4 separate regions of the Homo sapiens genome follow, and all the other regions are linked to region 3. The links are contacts of gene promoters, found by promoter capture Hi-C in human tissues and cell types (Jung and others, 2019). All regions are on one chromosome and are shown on one strand. Each heading gives the region's core, a stretch centred on a gene start or on the middle of the fragment in contact. The rest is flanking DNA. Distances are from core to core; before and after follow the strand shown.

What was found. Contacts are between HindIII fragments. The study calls those that stand out against the background at their distance.
Region 1: a fragment that was not itself captured here is called in contact with the fragment with the promoter of UMPS in region 3 in 3 of the 25 tissues and cell types used here (dorsolateral prefrontal cortex, lymphoblastoid cells and mesenchymal stem cells).
Region 2: a fragment that was not itself captured here is called in contact with the fragment with the promoter of UMPS in region 3 in 1 of the 25 tissues and cell types used here (IMR-90 fibroblasts).
Region 4: a fragment that was not itself captured here is called in contact with the fragment with the promoter of UMPS in region 3 in 1 of the 25 tissues and cell types used here (liver).

What each region holds. Positions count from the first base shown.
Region 1 is chr3:124,557,174-124,559,873 of GRCh38, forward strand. The region is part of intron 33 of KALRN (kalirin RhoGEF kinase); the gene reads left to right. The region is part of intron 2 of LOC105374076 (a long non-coding RNA gene); the gene reads right to left. Among named protein-coding and RNA genes, the nearest start is that of UMPS, 170 kb to the right of the region's middle. The HindIII fragment of the contact is 4,316 bases long and covers 1-2,700 here.
Region 2 is chr3:124,938,146-124,940,845 of GRCh38, forward strand. No RefSeq gene overlaps it. Among named protein-coding and RNA genes, the nearest start is that of MUC13, 4.7 kb to the left of the region's middle. The HindIII fragment of the contact is 5,379 bases long and covers 1-2,700 here.
Region 3 is chr3:124,729,126-124,731,825 of GRCh38, forward strand. It overlaps UMPS (uridine monophosphate synthetase), which reads left to right and starts at 1,327. Exons shown (of 6, transcript NM_000373.4): 1 at 1,327-1,502. The coding sequence starts at 1,347. RefSeq lists enhancers at 985-1,584, 997-1,406. The HindIII fragment of the contact is 9,650 bases long and covers 1-2,700 here.
Region 4 is chr3:124,573,706-124,576,405 of GRCh38, forward strand. All of the region lies in intron 34 of KALRN (kalirin RhoGEF kinase), which reads left to right. All of the region lies in intron 2 of LOC105374076 (a long non-coding RNA gene), which reads right to left. Among named protein-coding and RNA genes, the nearest start is that of UMPS, 160 kb to the right of the region's middle. The HindIII fragment of the contact is 5,764 bases long and covers 1-2,700 here.

The sequences.
Region 1 (2,700 bases), core at 168-2,667, 170 kb before region 3:
CACCTAGATAGTGAGCATAGTACCCAATAGGTAGCTTTTTAACCCTCATCCACTTCCCACTGGGTAGATTTTTATATTTTAGTATTGGGGCAGGGGGGCGGTGATGTTATTGTTGTAAAATTTTCTTCATTTGAAAAAATGCTATTATGAGCATTTTCATGCTTAAAGTACAGCTGCATGTCACTTGTGTGGTGCATCTCATCTTTTTGCATTTGGAAGGGAATCATAGTCTGGTTTGAGGTGTTTCATGTTAAGGGACATTACCTAATTAAATGAAATCACTTTCTGATGGAGGAATTCCAGGCATTAGCAGCAGGTGCAGGGAGTGTTGAGGGGAGGAGAGAAAGACAGTTTTTGCACAGGAGTTGGCAGGACTTCACGGTGCCCTTGAAACTGTGCCAAGTAGATATGCTCCAGCTTTACATTTTTTGCCAGCCAGCTCTGGCCTCCTGTGAGGCTGTTCATATGTAGATGTTAATTCATGTGAACTTGGTGCCTAAGGCTGGCTAAGAGTTGTGGAGGAATCAGATGATCAGATGGAAGAAGTTGCAGGGCAGGCAGCCAGGGGAGGAAGAGGAGGTCGGACTTATCTGATGGGCGCTCTTGGGCACAGCTCCCCCTCTGTCAAGAGTATCAGATCCAAGTGCTCTGCAAGGCAGTGTCAGAAGTCAGTATTCACAGTTAGAAGGCTCAGTTGGCAAGTATTGAGGGCAGGTATCAGATTCTGGGGTAAGGGGGCTTCTTCACATGGAAGCTTCCTGGAAAGCAATGCGGAATGAAGAGGCAAGAGTGAATCCTCATTTTGCATAAGGGATTCCTCGGTCCCACCATGTCTTTGTTTTTATCATAACAGGAAAAGTATGTGCTGATTTGAGGGAGGTCTGAGTCACCTTCCCTAGTGAGCCTCAGGGTCAGTTCTTCTAGTTAGGGCAAAACTCCATGAAGATTACTTTAAAAAAAAGGATTCACTTACATAATAATGTATATGCATATATACAGTTGATACAGTCTGTTACCAAACAACATGCCATCAAAATTGATGTTTAAAATTTCTTCTGTACTCCTTTCCTCCCAAATTTAAATAATAATTCACTAATACCGCCAGAATTTTTTTTTTTCTTTGAGAGGGAGTCTCACTGTGACTCCCAGGCTGGAGTGCAATGGCATGATCTCGGCTCACTGCAACCTCTGCTTCCCAGGTTTGTGCAATTCTCCTGCCTCAGCCTCCTGAGTAGCTGGGAATACAGGTGTGCACCACCACACCTGGCTAATTTTTTGTATTTTTATTAGAAACAGGGTTTCAACATGTTGGCCAGGCTGGTCTGGAACTCCTGACCTCAAGTGATCCACCGCCCTCGGCCTCCCGAAATGCTGGGATTACAGTCACGAGCCACTGCGCCCAGCCCAGAACTTATTTTTTAGACAATCATTTAGCTCTCTCTGCTTAAGGCACTATCCTAGGTGCTTTAATACTATCTCATTTAATCTTCACAACAAGCTGTGAAGTAGATACTGTCATTATCCCCATTTGACAGATGAAGAAATTGAGACAAAGAGGTGAAGTAACTTGCTCCTGGTCACACAGTTGGTGAGGAGCTGCAGAGCCCATGCCCTAAACGAGGCTATGCTGCCTTGGAGAATGGAGCAGAGACACAGAGGTGCACAAATGGAAGCTCTGAAATGACAACAGGAGAATTCTTCAGGGGTCCTGTCCTCACTCTCTGGATGCCATTGGGAAACCATCACAGAATAACTGTGTCTTTTCCATAACATGAGGAAGCTCAAAGGGACAATCTAGCTCACACAGTTTATACAAGAAGGAGGTTCAGTTAATCCCCAAATATTAATCATGTAAAAATAGACCTAAATGAAAATGATCATTTCTGGTGAACGTGAGAACTTTGAAAATGCAGATGGAGTTACAAAGAGTGGTTACGAAATGTCCCTTATGTATGTAGCGGTCCATGCTGGAAAGAAGCCAGCACAGCTATCACTGTGGAGCTGGAGGAAAGTGAGGACAGGAGGAGCTCCTTCTGCCCCTCTGGGAAGCATTGCGGAGGGTGAAGGAGGCCGTGTCCACCCAGGGATTGGTCAGCAGGGGAACAGGCCCCACTGGGAATGGCCAGGACCCAGAAAGGAGAGAGACTGGGAAAGTAAGGACAAGGAGTTGGATGGTGACTCAGCAGCAGGCACTTGGAGGGAAGCCAGGCAGACAATTAGCATCAAGAAGGCTTAGCAGGCCTTAGGCAGGGTTCTAGGGAATTAGGCAGAGAAAATATCTGAGAGCTCCTGGGAAGGGGGCCAAGACTTAGGCATGAAAGGCCAGACAGGGACTCGCTGCTGGAGTGGGAGCATACAGTGAGGGGAGTAAGATGAGAGAAGATTCCAGAAGCAGGGGTACAAGATCAGAGAAGAATCAAAAACATAACCTGAATGCATGCCGAGATTCTGTGCTGCCTACTCAGCTCCCAGCATCTCCCTGAGTAGGAATAACTTTGGTCTTAGAATCTTACCCTACAGCATCCCTGGAGGAGAGGATGGGAGGGACTGTTGCAGGAGCAGCTCTGCCTGACCCCTCAAACCATTTCCCCAGCACCCTCCCTTGTTGGCCATTCTTTGGAATTCGCTTCTTGCCAGGGTAGGGACCTGGTGTAGTATATCTTTTTGATCAAGCCATTGAGGTGAAGTGAACCAGGATAT
Region 2 (2,700 bases), core at 57-2,556, 210 kb after region 3:
TACTCACCTCAGATCCTGCAGTTTCCATTTGGGGAGATAACCTGGATTCAGGATTGTTGTGCCCAAGAAGGTAAGGATCCAGAAGGAGGGAGCCCTAAGCCACATTCTCAAAAATAAGCTTCTATAAAAGTAATATTTTGTCTCCATCTGTTGTACTCTGTGTTTTACTTCTCACAGAACTCAAAACCTGGATAGGAAAAAGGGTTGATATTTATTAGTATGAAATGGCTAAATTCTAAGTATTTATCTATAAGTCAAGAACACAGACTCCATTTTCCCACAGAAACAATGTTATATGTTGGTAACGTTGTCACCAAGTCAGCTAAAAAAAAAAAGCTGTTTACCCATAATTACCTGGTTGCAAAAGAACTATTGTTCAGGGTGAGCTTTTCAATAATTCTATTGACTATGCAGAGGAATGGGACATGCCCATTAATCTAAAGCAATATCCAGTTATTTAGGCATAAACTCAAGAGAGCTATATCAGAGCCATTTAGAATTAGAATTTGATCCATCAAGAGCCTCTCTAGCCAGGTGAGGTGGCTCACATCTGTAATCCCAGCACTTTGGGAGGCCAAAGTGGGAGGGTTGCTTGAGCCCAGGAGTTTGAGACCAGCCTAAGCAATATAGTGAGACCTTGTCTCTACAAAACAATTTTAAAATAATTATCTTAACATGGTAATGCATGCCTGTAGTACCAGATACTTGGGAGGCTGAGGCAGGAGGATCCCTTGAACCCTGGAGGCGGAGGTTGCAGTGATCCGAGATTGCACTGCTGCACCACGGCATGGGCGAGAGAGCGAGACCCTGTCTCAAACAAAAGAGCTCCTCTTTGGCTACTTTGATTCTGCAACACTGCAGTACCATGATAAGGCTCTAGAGGATCATTAAAACATAAAATTCTATCAAGATTAAATAGTTAGACCCAAAGATTATTTTCTGTCTATAGAACCAAATGTAAATACATGTTAAGCTCCTATCTCCTTCTCACTAATTCCAGCCCCTCAATAGAGGTGTGAGTATAGCCTTCCCAGAGTCACTACTACCATTTACGGATATCACATTTAGATACTACATGAAGCTGATCAGCATTTTCCTCTCTAATTCAGAAGACCATTCCCAGAGAAATGACTTGTGGAATGCAATATTCCCAACTCAAATGTCTAATTGATGACACATTGACAGAACCATTTCCACTCTTGCTTTTTATACCCTCTGAAATTAACTTTTCAGTGAATGGTTGCTTTACATGAGTAATGTTCAGGAGGGGGCTGTTCAGTCACTCCCAGGTACTCGAGGCATCTCTGCACATCCATCAGGTATCGAAGATGAAGCAGTGAACAAGATGATGAAGGTCTCTGCTCTCCTGAAGCTTCTGTGAGATCATGGGTAGTGGAGGTCGGCAAAAAAAGTAATTAAATACAATGATTTTAGAGAGTGGTCAATGCTCTGAAGAAAATAAAACACAACAATGGGATAGTGACTTGTGGGGTATGAGGTGCTACTTTAAATAGGATGGTCAGCAAAACCTTCTTGCAGGAGCTGATATCGGAACTGAGAGCTGCTATTGAAGGGAAGCCTGCCATATAAACATCAGAAAAAGGGCATTCCAGCTAGAAAAGTAGTAAGTGCAAAGGCCTGAGGCCAGAACAAGTCTGGTGTGTTTGAAGAGCACCATGATTTAGGAGGAGACTGGGGGGAGATGTTGTCAGAGAGGCAGGCTGGGGCCTGATCCTACAGGATCTTAGAGGCTGTGGAAAGGAATGTGGATTTTATTCTAAGCACAATGGCAGAAGCCATGGGAACATTTAAGCAGGAGAACGACAGGCCAGATCTTCCTTGGGGGCCTTATCTAAAGGAGCTGGTCTACTCGCCTGACCATCCCACCTCAGTTCGTTTCCTCCATAGCCCTCATCACAATATGTAATTACTTTGTCTCTTTGCTGGTTTAGCTACCTGTTGCCTAACTTCCATGAGAGTTTCTCTTCCCTGTCCACTCCTCTGTCTCCAGCATCCAGAACAGCTGGCACATGGCAGGTGCTCAGTAAAGATTTATGGAAGAAAGGAAGGAATGAATGAAGGCCGTCCGATTTGTTCTAGGTGCAGGGAACAGGGAATGCAAAGAAATAAGACACAGTTTGGGGTCTTCAGACCCACAGTGCATTCAGACAATTTATCTTCCAAAAGTTGGTTGTCATGATCAAATTATTCAAAAGAGAAAATATTATTAGTAAGTAAATATGTGGGGGAAGAATATTTAGCTTTTTACTCATCTTTTTTTGTTTGTTTGTTTGTTTTGAGAGGGAGTCTCGCTTTGTCACCCAGGCTGGAGTGCAGTGGCGCAATCTCGGCTCACTGCAAGCTCCGCCTCCTGGGTTCATGCCATTCTCCTGCCTCAGCCTCTCGAGTAGCTGGGATTACAGGCGCCCGCCACCACACCTGGCTAATTTTTTTATTTTTATTTTTTAGTAGAGATGGGGTTTCACCGTGTTAGCCAGGATGGTCTCAATGTCCTGACCTCGTGATCCACCCGCCTCGGCCTCCCAAAGCGCTGGGATCATAGGTGTGAGCCACTGTGCCCGGCCTTTACTCATCTTAAAGATGTTACAACTAAAACAAAAGTGAGATTATATTTTACCTCTTTTTTTTTATTTTAATTTTTTTTTTTTTGAGATGGAGTCTCACTGTGCCACCCAGGCT
Region 3 (2,700 bases), core at 77-2,576:
TCTGTTCCTCTTTTTTAAAAAAGTATTTGTTATAGTTGACACATGATATCGTACACATTTATTGGGTACATAGTGCTATTTCAATACACACAATGTACAGTGATCAAATCAGAGTAATTCATATATTCCTCACCTTAAATATTTATCCTTTCTTTGTGTTGGGAACATTCAAACGCCCCTCTTCTAGCTATTTTAAAATATATAGTAAATTATTATTGACTACAGTCACCCTACAGTGCAATGGAACACTAGGACTTATTCCTCCTATCTAGCTGTAATTTGTGTCCTTTAACCACCCCCTACCCTTCCCAGCCTCTAGTGATTACTATTTTATTCTCTAGCTCCATGAGATCAACTTTTTTAGCTTCTGCATATGAGCGAGAACATTTGGTATTTATCTTCCTGTTCCTGGCTTGTTTCACTAACATAATGTCCTTCAGGTTCATCCACCTTGCTGCAAATGACAAGGTTTCATTCTTTATGTGAATTTAAGGGTTATTTTCCTTAAGCTAGAATAAAGTATTGCCTTATATACACAATGGAGAAGGGATTTATTTGTACAGATTATTTATTGATTATTTCTTTAAGGGATTTATTTGTAAAGACCAAATATGTTTGGATTTTCAGATTGTCTAGCAATATTATCCTCCTGGATAACCCTGATACCAATCAATTAACCGTCTTCTAACTCTCCTCCTTCCCTCCCTTACCTTTTCTACACCTATTACCTAAGCATTTGAGGTACGCCAAAGGAAATAAAAAAGTACTCCTCCAGGAAGCAGAGTACAGACAAAAGAGGTAATGAATACTGTAATGATCTAAGTGCTATATATTCCTATGTGCAAACTGCTATGGAACTGTCACGTACTAGATGCTATGAAGTTAATAAAAGAATTGAGTAAAGGTCCCTGTCTTTGATAACTTATATTCTATTTGGAGAAACATGGGGGGTAAATCTTGGCTAATAACTAGCAAATATAACATGTTAGGCCAAGGAGTAGAGATAATTAAGAGAACTAGTCGAGAAGGCATTGGCTATTAAAAAATGGACAGGATTTATGCAAACTCTCATGAAAGGTGGGACTTCATGATCCTACAGTCAATCTAGCTGTTCTGGGCTTTGAACCCCAGCGACCCCATCCAGAAGAAACCAGGAGAAGCACAAACTGGCGCTAGGTTCGCTACCATCCACCTGACCCTTGAGCCCGGGGAAACCCACGGGTGCAGCAAGCCGGGAAAGCTGCAGACGAGGCAGGCGGAAGAGGCGGGACTTCGCGGGTGACGTCATCGGGGCGCCGGAGGCCCGGGGCGCCTGGGAATTTGAAGCAAACAGGCAGCGCGCGACAATGGCGGTCGCTCGTGCAGCTTTGGGGCCATTGGTGACGGGTCTGTACGACGTGCAGGCTTTCAAGTTTGGGGACTTCGTGCTGAAGAGCGGGCTTTCCTCCCCCATCTACATCGATCTGCGGGGCATCGTGTCTCGACCGCGTCTTCTGAGTCAGGTGCTGGCCTAGGAAGGGAAAGGACAGGGCTTGGTGGCGGGAAGGAGGACAAGGAAATGGAAGAGGGTGACAGGAGTTGGGCCGTGAGTGAGAGCAAAAGAGCCAAGCAGGCAGACCGACCCTACTCTTGGTTTGGGGAGTAAGCATGAGAAGCACAGAGGCCAGGGGTTGGGCTCCTCGAGAGTCGTCTGTTCTTTCACCCACACGCTTAGACACGTGTTTTGCAAAAGTCGGGAAACCCAGTTTGGAACGCTTTCTGGCACTGAAGCACACTTGAATGAATTCTGTATATTTAACTCTTTAAGAAAATTAGACTTGCGGCCGGGCGTGGTGCCTCATGAGAGTAATACCAGCACTTTGGGATGCCTAAGTGGGCAGATCACCTGAGCCCCAGGAGTTCGAGACCAGCCTGGGCAACATGACGAGACCCCGTCTCTACAAAAAATTAGCTGGGTGTGGTGGCGCACGCCTGGGACGCTGAGGTGGGAGGATCACCTGAGCCTGGGAGGTCAAGGCTGCAATGAGCTGTCATTGCGCCACTGCACTCCAGCCTGGGCGACAAGTGAGACCCTGCCCTCAAAAAACAAACAAATAGACCGGGAAAACGTGGGTAGGCAGAGAATTCAGTAGCTGGGAAATTACTGGTGAGAAAAGGAAAATAGAACAACCAGAACTCTGTGATGTATACAAAATTTATCAGAGCCCAGAGAGACTTCAACCATACTCCCCTATGCAGCCCCGGGACAATTATTTAAAGGAATTTTGTCCCTGACTAGCTGCCTCTCCCATTATCTTAATGTACCTGGAATGTGTGATACAAAGAACAATGTATAGCTAATCAATCGCTTGTGTTATTATTTTATTTATTTATTTTTTAGATGGGATCTCTCTTACGTCACCCAGGCTGGAGTGCAGCTCTGTGATCATAGCTCACTGCAGCCTGGAACTCCTGGGCTTAAGAGATCTTCTTGCCTCGGGTGAGCACAGGGGCTCATGCCTGTAGTCCCAACTTTGGGAGGCTTTCTTTGGGAGGCTGAGGCGGGTGGATCACTTAAGGTCTGGAGTTCGAGACCAGCCTGGCCAACATGGTGAAACCCTGTCTCTACTGAAAATGCAAAAATTAGCTGGGCATGGTGGTGCACACCTGTAATCCCAGCTACTCAGGAGGCTGAGGCAGAAGAATCAGGAGGTTGCAGTT
Region 4 (2,700 bases), core at 194-2,693, 160 kb before region 3:
CTGGCTCCCTTCCCTCAGTCTCTATTCCTAACCTACCCTGGGTCCTTTCTACAGTCCACCAACAGCAGGTCCATCTGGCTCCGTGATTTCCCAAGAAATAATGGCTTAATCCTCTCATAACTTTCTTTTGACTTTAACCCAGAGGATTGAGATAATATTTGATATATTTGAGCTAAAAATTCAAGTTTTTCCTTGGCTTGTACCTCTGGCACCTCTCCATGACCTATTCTCTGTCATTAATTCTGTGGTACTTGAAGGTAACATTTGGACCACATTATGGAGATGGGCTGACCTGTGTGATGGGGGTTGTGCTGACACTGTGAGTGTTGGGTGTATATGAGGGGACCACTCTTTAATTCAAAGAAGAGCAGGACAGAGAGGAGTTTCGTGGAAACTGCCTCAGGCCTGCTTTGTTCTGGTTGAGATGTCCTGCCTGTGGCTACATCCATCTAATACTATTTAGGACATGAAAGGGCTTAGAATCAAAGCCTCAAATAGGAACATGTCAGGGCAAGCCACATCCTTCTCTAAATACAACTCAGTGTCGTGCTGTCTCCAAGTAGAACTGAAGCAGGAAGACCCAGGTGTCCATGGAAAGAGCTGGTCTCTCTGGGTCCCTCTGCAGAGATCCTGCATTTTTCCCTTTTGTAGCCAGCCTGCTGTGACTTTGCTTATGTTAAATGCCAATTTCAACAGCATGTTTTCATGCCTGCTGGTGCCCACTGTAAATCTGTGACATCTACATGATGATGATGCCCCTTATCATCCAGAGGGGAAGTCAGGGGCAAACTTGAATATGCTCTTTGGAGCCAATGAACCAGCTGATGGAGCTCAGAGCTAAAATGAGAGCCTCAGGATTTGATCCCAGAGAAGAAAGGCTGCCACTGACTGCTTTCTGAGAAGAAGCTGGAGATGATAGAGAGGAGGTTACCCCAGCAAACAGAATGTTCCCCCAGAGGAAAGATGGTGCAGTTTTCTTGCTTACAGCTAGCTAAGCTGAACACTTTCCCCCTAGAAGAACACGGGGACCCAGGAATGACATGCACTGAATGTGACTTGAGGAAAAGAGAAGGCAAGGCAATGGTCTGGACAATCTTGGGATGTGCCCATCCTGTCTGCTCAGGGAAGGGCAGAGATGGGAGGACCTCAAAGGCCTTGAGGAGCAGCCCTTGCAGGCCACAGCTCTAGGAGCTCTCAGCAACAGGATTCTGCAGGACAGAGCAGTCAGCACCCTCCTCTCACCGCCACACTGCCTTCCCTGTCTCACTTGCTCCTTGAGAACAACTCCTCACCGAGGATCTATGTGGGGGTGAAACTGCAGCCTTAACCCAAACCCTGCAAACAAGCATGAGAAGTCTTTCCATTTACTACTAATTGCCATTCTGAATACCAGCCCTCTGCCCTATGGGCAGTTACTGAACAGCCTGCCCCTTTCTTTGCCCTTGTGGTAGGACTGGGTTGTCTTGTTTTCTCCCCGTATCCACTAACCCCAGCCAGAATCTTGATTCTCAGATTGTGCCCACTTGCCTTACTTTCCACATGGGCCTCTAGGCCACAGGAAGTCTGGCTCCTCACCTTTGTACACAGGAGGGCGAACAGATAATTGCCCCGTTGCTTGCCCCCAGCTGCAGGGAGGTGGCCCAGGCTGAAGACCCATCTCAGTTCAGAATGTTCCAGTGTCTCCTGTCTCATTTCCAGTAAAACGAAGTCCTTTCTGTGACTGCAAAGAGGCTCCACAAAACCTGTTCTGGAGCCTATTCTCTGACTTCATCTCCTATGTATTCATTTCCTGTTGCTGCTGTAACAAATTACCATGAACATGGTGGCTTCAAACAACAACACAAACTCATTATCGTACAGTTCTGTGGGTTGGAAATGCAACATGAGTCCCCATGGGCTAAAATCACAGTTTCAGCAATCAGGGCCACATTCCTTTTTGTAGGCTGTTAGGGAAAAGCTATTTCTTGCCTCTTCCAGCTTCCAGAGACCACCACACTTTCTCCATCTTCAAAGCCAGCAATGTTGCATCTTTCTGATCCTCCTTCCATGGTAATGTTTCCCCTGGGCCACAGTGGGAAAGGTTCTCTGCTTTTAAGAACACCCACCATTACACTGTCCTCACCAGAATGATCCAGCATAATCCCCTTGCCTCGAGGTCCCTAACAGAATCACATTTGCACAGTCTCTTTTGCCATATAAGGTAACATATTTATAGGTTCTGGAGAGGAGGATGTGGACATCTTTGGCGGACGTTATTCTGTCTACCATTCACCTGACCAGCCTGCCTCACTGAGCCATTACCAATCAAGCCATGCATACGCTCACCTCAGGGCCTGATCTTTTGTTCCCTCTGCTTGGAACACACCAGATACCCCAGATCCTCAGAGACTTGGATGTCTTGCTGTCACACTTCCTTCTGCTTGAATGTCACCTGATTAGAGAGGTCTTCCCTAACTCCCACCCTCTCCCATCACAGTGTATACTCCCTTCTCTGTTTTACTTTTCTTCATTGCATTTATCACTACCTGACATATTTGTTAATATTCCTCTGCAAATCCCCCCTACCAATACAGGGATTTTGTCTACTGTGTTCATTGCCCTATCCCCAGCATCTAAAACAGTAGCTGCCATGTAAGAAGTTCTCAGTAAATATTTATAGAAAGGAGGGACGGATCATGCATCAGGGACCTCTGCAGAGTT